2 separate regions of the Homo sapiens genome follow, and region 1 is linked to region 2. Evidence: promoter capture Hi-C in human tissues and cell types (Jung and others, 2019). All regions are on one chromosome and are shown on one strand. The core of a region is centred on a gene start or on the middle of the fragment in contact, and the rest is flanking DNA. Distances in the headings are between cores, read along the strand shown. Region 1 overlaps LOC105376265 (a long non-coding RNA gene). Region 2 holds the start of CRB2 (crumbs cell polarity complex component 2).

Evidence for each region. Contacts are between HindIII fragments. The study calls those that stand out against the background at their distance.
Region 1: a contact is called between a fragment that was not itself captured here and the fragment with the promoter of CRB2 in region 2, in 3 of the 25 tissues and cell types used here (adrenal gland, aorta and liver).

What each region holds. Positions count from the first base shown.
Region 1 is chr9:123,299,777-123,305,010 of GRCh38, forward strand. It overlaps LOC105376265 (a long non-coding RNA gene), which reads right to left. Exons shown (of 4, transcript XR_930331.3): 4 at 5,049-5,132. Among named protein-coding and RNA genes, the nearest start is that of STRBP, 34 kb to the left of the region's middle. RefSeq lists an enhancer at 5,180-5,229. The HindIII fragment of the contact is 3,759 bases long and covers 1,369-5,127 here.
Region 2 is chr9:123,352,658-123,358,189 of GRCh38, forward strand. It overlaps CRB2 (crumbs cell polarity complex component 2), which reads left to right and starts at 3,540. Exons shown (of 13, transcript NM_173689.7): 1 at 3,540-3,697. The coding sequence starts at 3,604. RefSeq lists silencers at 1,361-1,470, 1,491-1,540 and enhancers at 1,503-2,002, 1,671-1,840, 5,221-5,532. The HindIII fragment of the contact is 16,000 bases long and covers 1-5,532 here.

The DNA.
Region 1 (5,234 bases), core at 1,998-4,497, 53 kb before region 2:
TGTTTCTTTAAATAGATCTGGCTGCTTACAAAGCAGGTATTGGAGTGCCTAAAAGCCCAGCGGCCTTCAGAAGCCCCTGCCTCTGGCATTCGCTGGAGACTTTCCCACTCAACTGGTGTCACTCTGTTCTTCATGCTCAGCTTACAGAAGCCTTGGCTCGGTCTCAATGCTTCCCGCACCCTGTGGCTCCCCTTGCCCCGGCCACTGGTCTACATGTGCTTTGGAGTTCACCTTCCGGTTGCATTGATGCTCCAGATAATAATCAAAGCCATCTCCCCCAGGCCCTCAAACCCTGCGCCACTCACCCACACAAAGACAGGGGATGATAAAAACCATAGTTCTTGTGTGCTAAGCACCTGCTATATGCTTGGCACTTTACATGCCTATCTCCTTTACTCTGTAAAAATAACAACCGTAGCTATCATTGAGTCCTTTTTCTGTGCCAGCTACTGTACTCTTTATATGCATCTGCATTTCCCAGAGTATGAAAGAGAGGCTCAGAGGAGTAAAGTGAGTTGTCCAAGGTCACAGAGCTAGTAAGGAAGTGGTGGTGCCTCGTTTCAAACCAACCCTTGTCTGACTGCCAGCCTCATGCCCCTAATCCCTACCCTGTGCTGCTCTTATAACCACCCTGTGGGATAGGCAGGAAAGATGAGAAAACTGGGTTTCAGCAAGGTTAAATCTCAGTTCAGGGTCATTTTAACACAGCGTCAGAGGGACCTGAGAGCTTGCAGTGAGAAGATGCTGGTCTGGGTAAGGAACTGGGTGAATAGGAAGGTCACAGAAGGTGAGAGTCTGGTGTGGGTGAGGAATGGGGCTAGGTCCTCCACCAGGGAGGCAGGGATCCAAGGCTGGGCTCTAATCCTGGCAGGAGAAGTGCAGGCTGGGAAGGCAGCTTCCCAGGGCTCCCCTCCACCCCGGAAACACTACCCACCCATCTGGGACAGCATAGCCATTTCTCGATCATATCTGCCATTGTCCTTTGTCCCGGGGCTCAGGGACCATGTGGGGTTGTGTGTGCTGACAGAGGTGGAGGAGGGGGACTCAGGGCCTCTGGTGTCTGGGAGGCTCAGATAGGCCAGGGTGTTCTCTGTTCACCTGCTGGACACTGGGCTGCTATGCTCAGGGGCAATGGCTCATACCACATCTCCTCTATCTGGAGTGTAATAAAAAGATCCAGGTGCCTAAGGCAGCAAGGTGAATCTGGGCCCCAAAGTTCTCGGCTCAAGTCCTGGTCTACCACTGACTTGCCTGGGACTTCAGGTACATCACTTTCTGTCTTGGCATTGTAACAGCTCCTGTTGGGGCTGTGGAGCACTGGTGTGTGGGTAAGTGTTGTGAGAAGTAGAGTCAAGAGTAGCTGGTGTCAGCTGCCACGGTAGCTGCGATCCTAGCACTTTGGGAGGCCAAGGCAGGTGAATCTCTTGAACTCAGAAGTTCAAGACCAGCTGGAACAACATGGCAAAACCCTGTCTCTACAGAAAATACCAAAAATTAGCCAGGCATGTTGGTGTGCGCCTATAGTCCCAGCCACTCTGGAGACTGAGGCTGGAGGATTGCTTGAACCCAAGAAGTTGAGGCTGCAGTAAGCTGTGATTGTGCCACTGCACACTCCAGCCTGGGTAACAGAGTGAGACCCTGTCAAAAAAAAAAAAAAAAAAAAAAAAAAAAAAAAAAAAAAAAAGCAGGTATGTGACTTTGGAAAACAGTCTGGCAGTTCATCTAAAAGTTAAACATAGCATCCCTGTATGGCCCAGCGGATGCACTCCTAGGTATACACCCAACAGAAATGAAAACACATGTTCACACAAAAACTTTTACACGACTGTTCATAGCAGCGTTATCCACAGTAGTCAAAAAGTGGAAATAACCCAAAGCCACCAACCAATGAACGGATACCAAAATGCAGTATTTCCACATAATAGAATATTATTCAGCCATAAAAAAGAATGAAGTACTGATGAGTGTTATGACATGGAAGAATCTTGAAAACAGAAGCTAGGCACGAAAGGTCACATACTGTATGATTCCATTTTTATGATTGGCCAGAATAGGCCAATCCACAGAGACAGAAAGTAGGAGCAGGGGAAATTGGGGGAAGGGACAGCTAATGGGTACAAGGTTTCTTTTGGGGTATTGAAAATGATCTGGAAATAGTGATGATGGGTGCACAACCTTATGAATAGAATAAAAACCACTGAATTGTACACTTTAAGGAAGAATTTAAATGATAGGAGAATGGTTTGTTTTTGTTTTTGAGACAAAGTCTTGCTCTGTCACCCGGGCTGTCGTGCAGTGGTGCGATCTCAGCTCACTGCAACTTCCGCCTCCCGGGTTCAAGCGATTCTCCTGCCTTAGTTTCCTGCGTAGCTGGGACTACAGGCACCCACCAACACGCCCGGCTAATTTTTGTATTTTAGTAGAGACAGGGTTTCACCATGTTGGCCAGGCTGATCTTGAACTCCTGACCTCAAGCGATCTGCCCGCCTCCGCCTCCAAAGTGCTGGGAGAATGTTTTTAAAAGAGAGAATAGCGAGCATTTCCTTCTCCAGATTCCATGCTAAGCACTTCCCATGTGCCTTGTGTAATCCCCACATCAAACCTAGAAGAGAAGAACCCTCATTATGCTTATTTCATAGGTGAGGAAACTGAGGCAGGGAGCGGTTCAATAGCTTCCCCAAGGTGGCACAGCTCTGGTGCCACATGCAAATGCAAGGTCAGTGTGGACGGCATTGCACCTCCACTGAGACCACAGGGTACTTTGTACAAGCTTTTCCTGTGGACAGTCTCCTTGTTCATCTTCCCTATCAGCCCATGCGGGCCTGGAGAGCAGACACCTTATTCAGCGACTCCCCACAACACAGCTCAAGGCCTGGCTCATAGACGTCTGTTGAATGGAAGGAGCACTGCACTATCTTTGCCCTCTCGGCTGGTTTGCAGAGAAATCGACTTTTCACAAAAGCACAGCATCCGCTGTGAAATCTTCAGGCTGCCAGAGGCTGCTTCACGCTCACCCTGAGGTTGCTGAGATGAGAGGCAAGAACCACCTCAAGTCGAGACAAAATGCATTTGTGGTTTTGAAGGAAAGTCGTTAGAAGACAAAGTCTGTCTTCCAAGGCCAAGGTTGCTCCAATTCCGTTTACTTAAAGTAGAAAGAAGACAATCCCTGCCCCGATGGGTCTGCGCTGGCTTGTAGGAAGGAGAGATTTTGCTGAGTATCCAACACTAACCGCAGGAGAGAGCAGAGGGGAGACAGTGGGAGCCAAAGCAAACATTCTGAAGTCAGAGATAATGGGAGAAGGTAAGAGGAAGAATAGGCTTGGAGGCCAAGCAGGAAGCAGGTCTGAAAGGAAGGGTGGGAAGGCAGGAAGCGTCCCGAGCACTTATGAGAAGATGGCCCTCCAGAGTCTGAGGGGGAGGTCTTGGAGGAACCTGGGCTGGCTGAGCTGGAGTCACAGCTGGCCTGGCCAAGACTCCTCCAACAGTCTGCTCCTGGGCCTCCCTGACTTGGGCCTCTCCCTGTCCTGTCATCCTCCATTTGAACCCAAAGTGTCCTTTCAACACACAGATTGTTCCTGTCCCAAAACCCTTCCACGGCTCCCCACTGAGAAGCATTCAGACGAGGCACTCCAGGCCTCAGGGTCCAAATGAAGTCGCAGGCCAGGTGCGGTGGCTCATGCCTGTAATCCCAGCACTTTGGGAGGCCAAGGCAGGAGAATTACTTGAGTCCAGGAGTTTGAGACCAGCCTGGCCAATATGGTGAAACCCCATCTCTACTAAAAATACAAAAATTAGCCTGGCGTGGTGGCGCACACCTATAATCCCAGCTACTCAGGAGGCTGAGGCACGAGAATCACTTGAACCCGGGAGGCAGAGGTTGCAGTGGGCCGAGATCATGCCATTGCACTCCAGCCAGGGTGACAGAGCGAGACCCTCCCTTTGTCCTTTCAGCTTCCCTTCCCCACTTCTCTCTGTGGCAATCCCCTAGGATCTCATGCACCAACCTTCTTATTCTTCCCCAAGTGAACTCCGCCTTTCTTGCTTTTTCCGTATTTTCTCTTTTTCCCAGATATGTCTCATCTCCTCCAATAGCCCCTTGTGGGACTATTTTCTCCACTTCTTTGAATCTCCCTCAATGTCTAATCTGGGGCTGGCCATGGACGCATGCTCAGTAACTACCAGAAAAACGAATCCAGTAGCCAGAAGGATGGAACACAGAAGGATTCTGGGCAACTGACCTGCCTAGTTCACGCTTATAGAGCTTGACGTGTTAGGCCGGGTTCACAGGTTTGCCAGGAAACAGACCCTGGGGAAAGGGTGGGGTCTAAACGGCATATCTGGGAGGTGGACGCTAACACAGAGTACGTTTGAGGGTAGCCACCTTTCTGAGCACCTCCGGCTCCATCCTGCTGAGGTCCTCTAGGAAATGGGAGAAAGCACAACTTCTAGTTGTCCCACCTGGAAAGTAAAGGATGCTGAAGTATTTACCTCCCGTCTCCCACTCACCTGGCTCAGGGCAGTTCCTGGGGTGTTTACACCTGTGGCCTGCTCCTGGCTCAGGCTGAAGGACACCTGTGGTGTGAGAGTCACAGATGCTTGCAGCAGGACCCCATAGGCAGGCTCCAGATGAGTGGGAGGGGATCAGACAGGCCCCCACTCTCCCAGCCTCTGTGCCTTTGCTGTGCTATTCCATCCCTGAACTGCCCTCTTCCAGGTCTCTTCTCCACTAGCAGTGAGCTCCTACACCTCCTTCGAGGCCCAGCTAAACGTTCTCCCTCTGGGAGGCTTCGCCTGACCACCCCAGAAGAGTTAGGGCCTCTCTCCCATGGACTCCCACCAGCACCCTTCCTCTCTCTTTTTAAATTTTATTTTATCATCATTATTATTTTTTTTGAGACGGGGTCTCATTCTGTTGTCAGGCTGGAGTGCAGTGGCACGATCTTGGCTCACTGCAGCCTTGACTTCCTGGGCTCAAGCGATCCTCCCACTTCACCCTTCTTCTCTTATCACTTTGTGCAGTGGCTCCCACAACAGCCACCCGCTGTTATCACCTTGCAACTGTGGTCTTGTCTGCCTGCCTCCCGGACTGCGAACTCTGCAAGGGTGAGGTCTCTGTCTGATTCATTGTGCCCCTAGCAGCAGCAGAGAGAAGGTGTCCTGTGAGTGACTGCATGAGAACAGCTGAATGAATAAGCAACAATAATAACTAACTATGTGCCCGACTCTGAGCTAAC
Region 2 (5,532 bases), core at 2,290-4,789:
TGCACCTCACCACTGGCCTATAGTGTCTGCCTCTGATGTTTCAGTTAGGGCATTGGGTTGGTTTTCTTTTGGAAGTTACAAGCATACATATGTTGAGACAAGGTTAAGTGCCACTGGTGGAGAGCCTGTGAGAGCTGGGCTGGGAGGGAGTGGAGGTCTGGTCACTGAAGCTGGGGCATGGACACGCTTGTCCAGGGAGGAATGTGGAGTGAGGAGGGCAGGGGGCTGGAGACAGACCCGGACAGGTCACAACATTCTGGGAGGAGGAGTGAGGAACGGTTAACAAGGTAGAGAGACCAGGGTAGCAGGGGTTGGGGAGCCCACAGGGACAGAGTTCCAAGAAGGAGGGCATGGGTGACAATGGAGAAGGCCTTAGAGAAACCCAGTGAGGTCAGGGCTGATGGTGGCCCCAGACTCAGACACAGAGGGAGCAGGGGGACCTGGGCCGTGAGAGCCGAAGGGGCCTCAGCTGGAGCTGCAGTCACTCTCACCCCAATACCCAATGTAGGGAGAAGGAGGGGAAGAAACACCCCAACCTCCATCTCCTCTCTCCCTGGCATCTCCGGCCTGTGCCTCCCACTGGCTCACCTTTCCAGGAAGCAGATGGAAGGAAGCCAGCATGACACAGCCCACAGGTGCCAGCAGGGCAAGGGCGGCTCTGGGTGGGGAGTAGGGACAAACAGAACAACCAGTGAGACCCTGAGAAGGGAGATGTGAGACCCTGGGGAATGATCCAGAGCAGGAGTCACCTGGAAGGGTCTGAAGGGGTTCCTTCTGGTGGGCTCCTCAGTGGGGAGGGTCACTATCCTCCCACGACGAGGCTCTGACAGCAGCCGCCCAGTCCTTGCAATGTTCTCAGGCAGATGCTGTGATGATCCCATTTACAGATGGGAGAACTAAGACGCAGAAAAGGAACAGACCAACAAAAGCTCACCTAAGGGCAGAGAGCAGGAACCGGATTCAAACCCAGGTCTGCCTGATGCCAAAGCTGGGACTCCCAACCACTGAACCTTGCTGTCGCATGTGCCCATCAGCTTGAGAGTTGGTGGGAATCCCGGCCCAGGACAGCGTCCCCTCAGCCAGGGAGGTGGCAGCAAGTCATGCTCAGGCTAGTGGAGGGGCAGTTAGTAACCTGCAGTCGGAGGTTCACCAGTGGAAAGGCTGGAGTCGGGCAGACCCAACTCGAATCCTGCCAGGCACTGGTGCTGGGCTGCTCACCTCTCTGTGCCTCGGTTTCCTCATCCATAGAATGGGGCCAATGCTGACTTTGCAGTGCTGCTGGTGGGTGGGGGGGGGGTAAACTGAGGTTATGTCGATTCCCTTCCCAGGTGGGGAGGACAGGGGAAGTGGATGCACCTGGGGGACCATCTCAGAGGAGCTGGCCCACTCTTACTGCCTTCTCCAGATCCGGACCAGGGAGCGGTCAAGATGGTGTGCCCTTGTCTGACCTCCGTCCTGCCTGCTGTCCAGCGACTCCCTGGCTTCCTCCCCGTCACGTGGGACTCCTGTACCCGGTGCTGTCGGGGGAGCCCCCCTCCATACCCTCCAGACCTCACAAGACACTTCCAGGTCTGGCCACAAGGTGGAGTGTGGCGGCTGCAGGACAGTGCTGGGGGCCGGGCTGCAGAGGAGACTGGACCTGCGCCGGGTGACCTCCCCGCTCTGTGAAAGTGTGGGAGTTTGTGTCTGTGCATCCAGAGAACCAGAGGGTGGTGGTTGACTTGCCGTGCTCCCCCCAGCCCCCCATTGGGATTGCCTGGGTCTCTGGGGGATCACTGAGAAGCTGGATAAAGAGAGCTGGCACTGTCGCCTTGGCTCACTAACGCCACCATTTTACAGGTGAGGAGACTGAGGCCCAGAGAAGGAAGTCACGTGCTGAGGTCACCGGCTAATCAGTGGCTGAGCTGGGCTCGAACCCAGATCTCTTACGCTGTGAGGCCTCTGCTTTTCCTGTGGCATGGAGAGGGGCTTCTCCCACCTGGGGAGAGGGATCCTGTTGTATTGGAGAGGCAGGGGATTAAAGATGGACTGAGAGAGGTTAGTGTCCCAGAAACCAAGGGGCAATCCCTGCCCTGGAGAGAACAGGCCTCAAGGGCAGGGATGGGGCAGGGGCAGTGGATAAGGAGTCTACCCAGGCCTTTTTGGGTTCCCTCCTTTGGTCCCTGGGGACCCAGGGCTGTGGCACTTGCCCCGGGCTAGAGGGTCGGCCAGGGCCTGTGTGGTGCCCACTGCTCCCTCCCCTGCACTGCAGGGGACCCTTGCCCATCCCTCTAGCTCATCTGGACCTCCCTCAATGGCTCCTGCTGTCTTTCCAGGCTGTGTCCTCCCGTGTCAGGGACACATCCCAGAGCCCAGGGCCTGCGTGGGCTGTATCCACGGTTACTGAATAGGGACAAACAGGCATGTATTGGCAGGGGCCGGTGGCTCATTTCAGGAAAGTCCCTTCAGCAAGAGGATTCTCTCCCCACTGGGGCTGAGGGTGGTAGAAGAAAGGAATGTTGTTCTATGTTGTAGTGTCTCTGAGATGACCTGGCTTCCTGAACCAGGTCCCCCTGAAGAGCTCCTCCTGTCCACCCCAACAAGAGGCCAGCTGGAGAGCAAGCAAACATCGAGTGCAGCAGGAGACTATAAGGTTAGACAACAAGAAGGACTTCCTGGCAGGGGAGAGCAATGCTTGCTTGGTTAGAGCTGCCTTTCAGTAGAATGGGCTGCTTTGGATTGCAGTGAGGTCGCTGGAGTTGCAAACAGCAGAGCCAGAGATCAAGGTCAAGTGGAAGAAAGCTGGGAAAGGTTCAGTTTGGCTGGTGAAGGGTGGAGAGGGTAAAGGGAGGCAGGGACCACCGTGGTGCAGGGGTGAGGTGCCCTGCAGGGAGCTGATCCTGAGGCCGATGGTGGGAGGAGCTGTGTGTGGTCGGGTGGGACGGGGTGGGGACAGCAGGAGACACTGAGAAGGTGGCATGGCCAGGAGCTAGGGGCTGACCGAGTGTGGGGAGGGGGGAGTGGGGAGGGGGCGTTGGGCTGCCCGATGGGAGGTGCCTTGGCTCCGATGGGAGCACTGGGGAGCAGCAGGTGGGGGGACGAGCTGGGTGGGAGGGGCTGCAGCTTCCCAGCAGAGACAGGGTCTGGGAGGCGACTGGACTCGAAGGCCTGGGCTTGGGAGAGAGGCCCGGGCTGGAGAGGTGGGGAGGGGGATCCAGGAGAGGGGATAACTAAGGACTTGGGAGTAGCTGGCATCACCTGGTGAGACGAGAGTCCTGAACAGCCCCCTCTCCAAGGACAGAAATTTCTCCAAGGAGGCTGACCTGAGAGGTGGGAGGAGAGTGGGGCAGAGGGTCAGGAGGGAGAAACCAGTGGGTGCCAAGACCAGGTCAGCCCCACAGGCTAGGGGGCTTGAGGACTTGGGGCTGATGTCTAGGGACGTCCACGAGGTGGAGCAGCCCAGGAGGCCTGGGTGGGAGGAGGAGGCGGTGGCGGGGAGGGGAGGGAGGGGCTGGGCCTCTGTCCACAGCATTAGTGCTGGTTGGAGGGACGAGGGGGGTGCGGAGCCAGCCAGGCCGCCCTCCCGTTCTCACAGCAGCCGAGCAGAGCGCAGAGCGGGCTGCCATGGCGCTGGCCAGGCCTGGGACCCCGGACCCCCAGGCCCTGGCCTCTGTCCTGCTACTGCTGCTCTGGGCCCCTGCCCTTTCCCTCCTGGCTGGTGAGTTGGGGCCCATGTCTGGAGGGGCCTGGGAGAGGGTCTGTCCCCCAAGACAGATACCCCAAGCCTTGGCTGCTGGGGTGGTGGGTGGGCTGGTCCGCGTGGGTGCAGGCCTGAGCTGTGGGGTGCACAGGAGTGCGCGGCTGTGGCCCCCAGACTCTGTGGGGCTCCACGGAGGTGAGTGTGTTCTGAGGCTCGGGGCTGTTTCATGTTGAGGGGGGTTGTAAGTTTCGGGGTTGGGGGATCGGGGGCTGGGCATGATTTGGGGGAGCTGATGCGGGTGAGGGATGGGGTGCGTGTTTTGGGAGGTGCTGTGTTGCATCCTGTAAAGGGCTGGGGGACTTCTGGGTTTCTAGGGGCTGAGTTTGGGGAGTTGCAGGTGGCATAAGCCTCACCCCAGAGCTTGTTCTGTGTCGCATGCTGGGTTGTGGGGCACAGGTTGTGGGTGTGTTAGAGTTGGGAGGTGGATGAGCTGTCTGGGGTGAGCCGTGAGTTGTGTCCGAGGAGTTGGGTGTGGTGAGCTGTGTCCTAGCACACGCTGTGGGGTGTAGGTTGTCCAGGGTTGAACTAGGTCTTTGCTCTCAACATGAGGGGTGTGGGATGTGCACAGCCGACCCCAACTCGGGACTGAGTGGAGAAGCGTGAGGGAGACTCAGGGAGCTGGGTGCCTGCCCGCACCCCTCCATTTGTGCGGTAGCCCTGCCTGTGCTGAGGGCTGCTGGGGATGCTCTGGGTCCCTGTGGGGTGGCTGGGGATTTGGGAACATGTGTGTGTCCCCTGCTGCCCCCTCCCCAGCATTCCAAGGCCAATCTGAAAGGGCTCCCTGAAGCCAGACCACATTTGCCAAGCCCTTTTTGCTTTTGTCCAAGCTCTCGGAGCCTGGAATTCCTCCTGGGGGGTCCAAGGGAACGCTTGGTGTTAGTTACTATAGTTACAGGGGCCGGGCCTGGGAAGTCCCCTGCCCCCACCACCACAGGCTGGGGAGGGAGCCAAGGAGGGCCTGGGCTCTCCTGAGGCTGGGGGAGCCCTCCCTGCCCCAGAGCTCCACAGGCTGTAGGGTGTGGGGGCCAAGTGTCTCCCAGTCCCACCTGGGGACCCTCATGTTTCCCGCACTCACAAAGCTTTCATTTCCTATCCTCTCTATGGGGCCCTAGGGAGGATGAGGACCCCATTTTGCAGTGAAGGAAACCAAGGCTCAGAGAGGGACGGGGACTTATGAGCTGGGCTCTGCTGGCAGGCGACTTGGGCTCCATAGAGGGGTGGGGCATGGTGGCGGGGGGCGGGGTGGCTGCTCCTCTCTGTTCTCTGCATACAAAGCACGTGAGATCCCGGTCTGTGGATCGGTGCTCTGTCCCCTGCCCTGTGATGCTCACACACCCACACTCCGCACACCTGTGTGGCATGCCCAAGGGCACACAGCACCACAGGGACAGGTGCTACAGACACATGTGGATCTACCAGCACATGCACCTACCTACACACATGGCATGTGCCTGCACACCAATGTGCACACCCCAACACGCACATGTGGACATGTGTGCATTCACACTCAGTGTGCACTCACAGGGGACCTGGAGGCACAGAGTGGATGGAGGCTGTGGGGGGTCTGGACACTGGTGTGTACACTCAACCCATCAGGCCTGCTGGGTTGCCCAGGGGCAGCCTTTCCTCTGCCATTTCTGTGCTGGGAGCGCCATCCCTGGGGATCCCTAAAAGTTGGTGGGGTACACTGCAGGCATGACCATTTCTGCATGCTGGTACCCTAGACTGCCTGCCGGGAGGGGAGGGATTGGGGATTTTGTCACTTGAAAACCAATTTCCATCCTGGAGGGGAT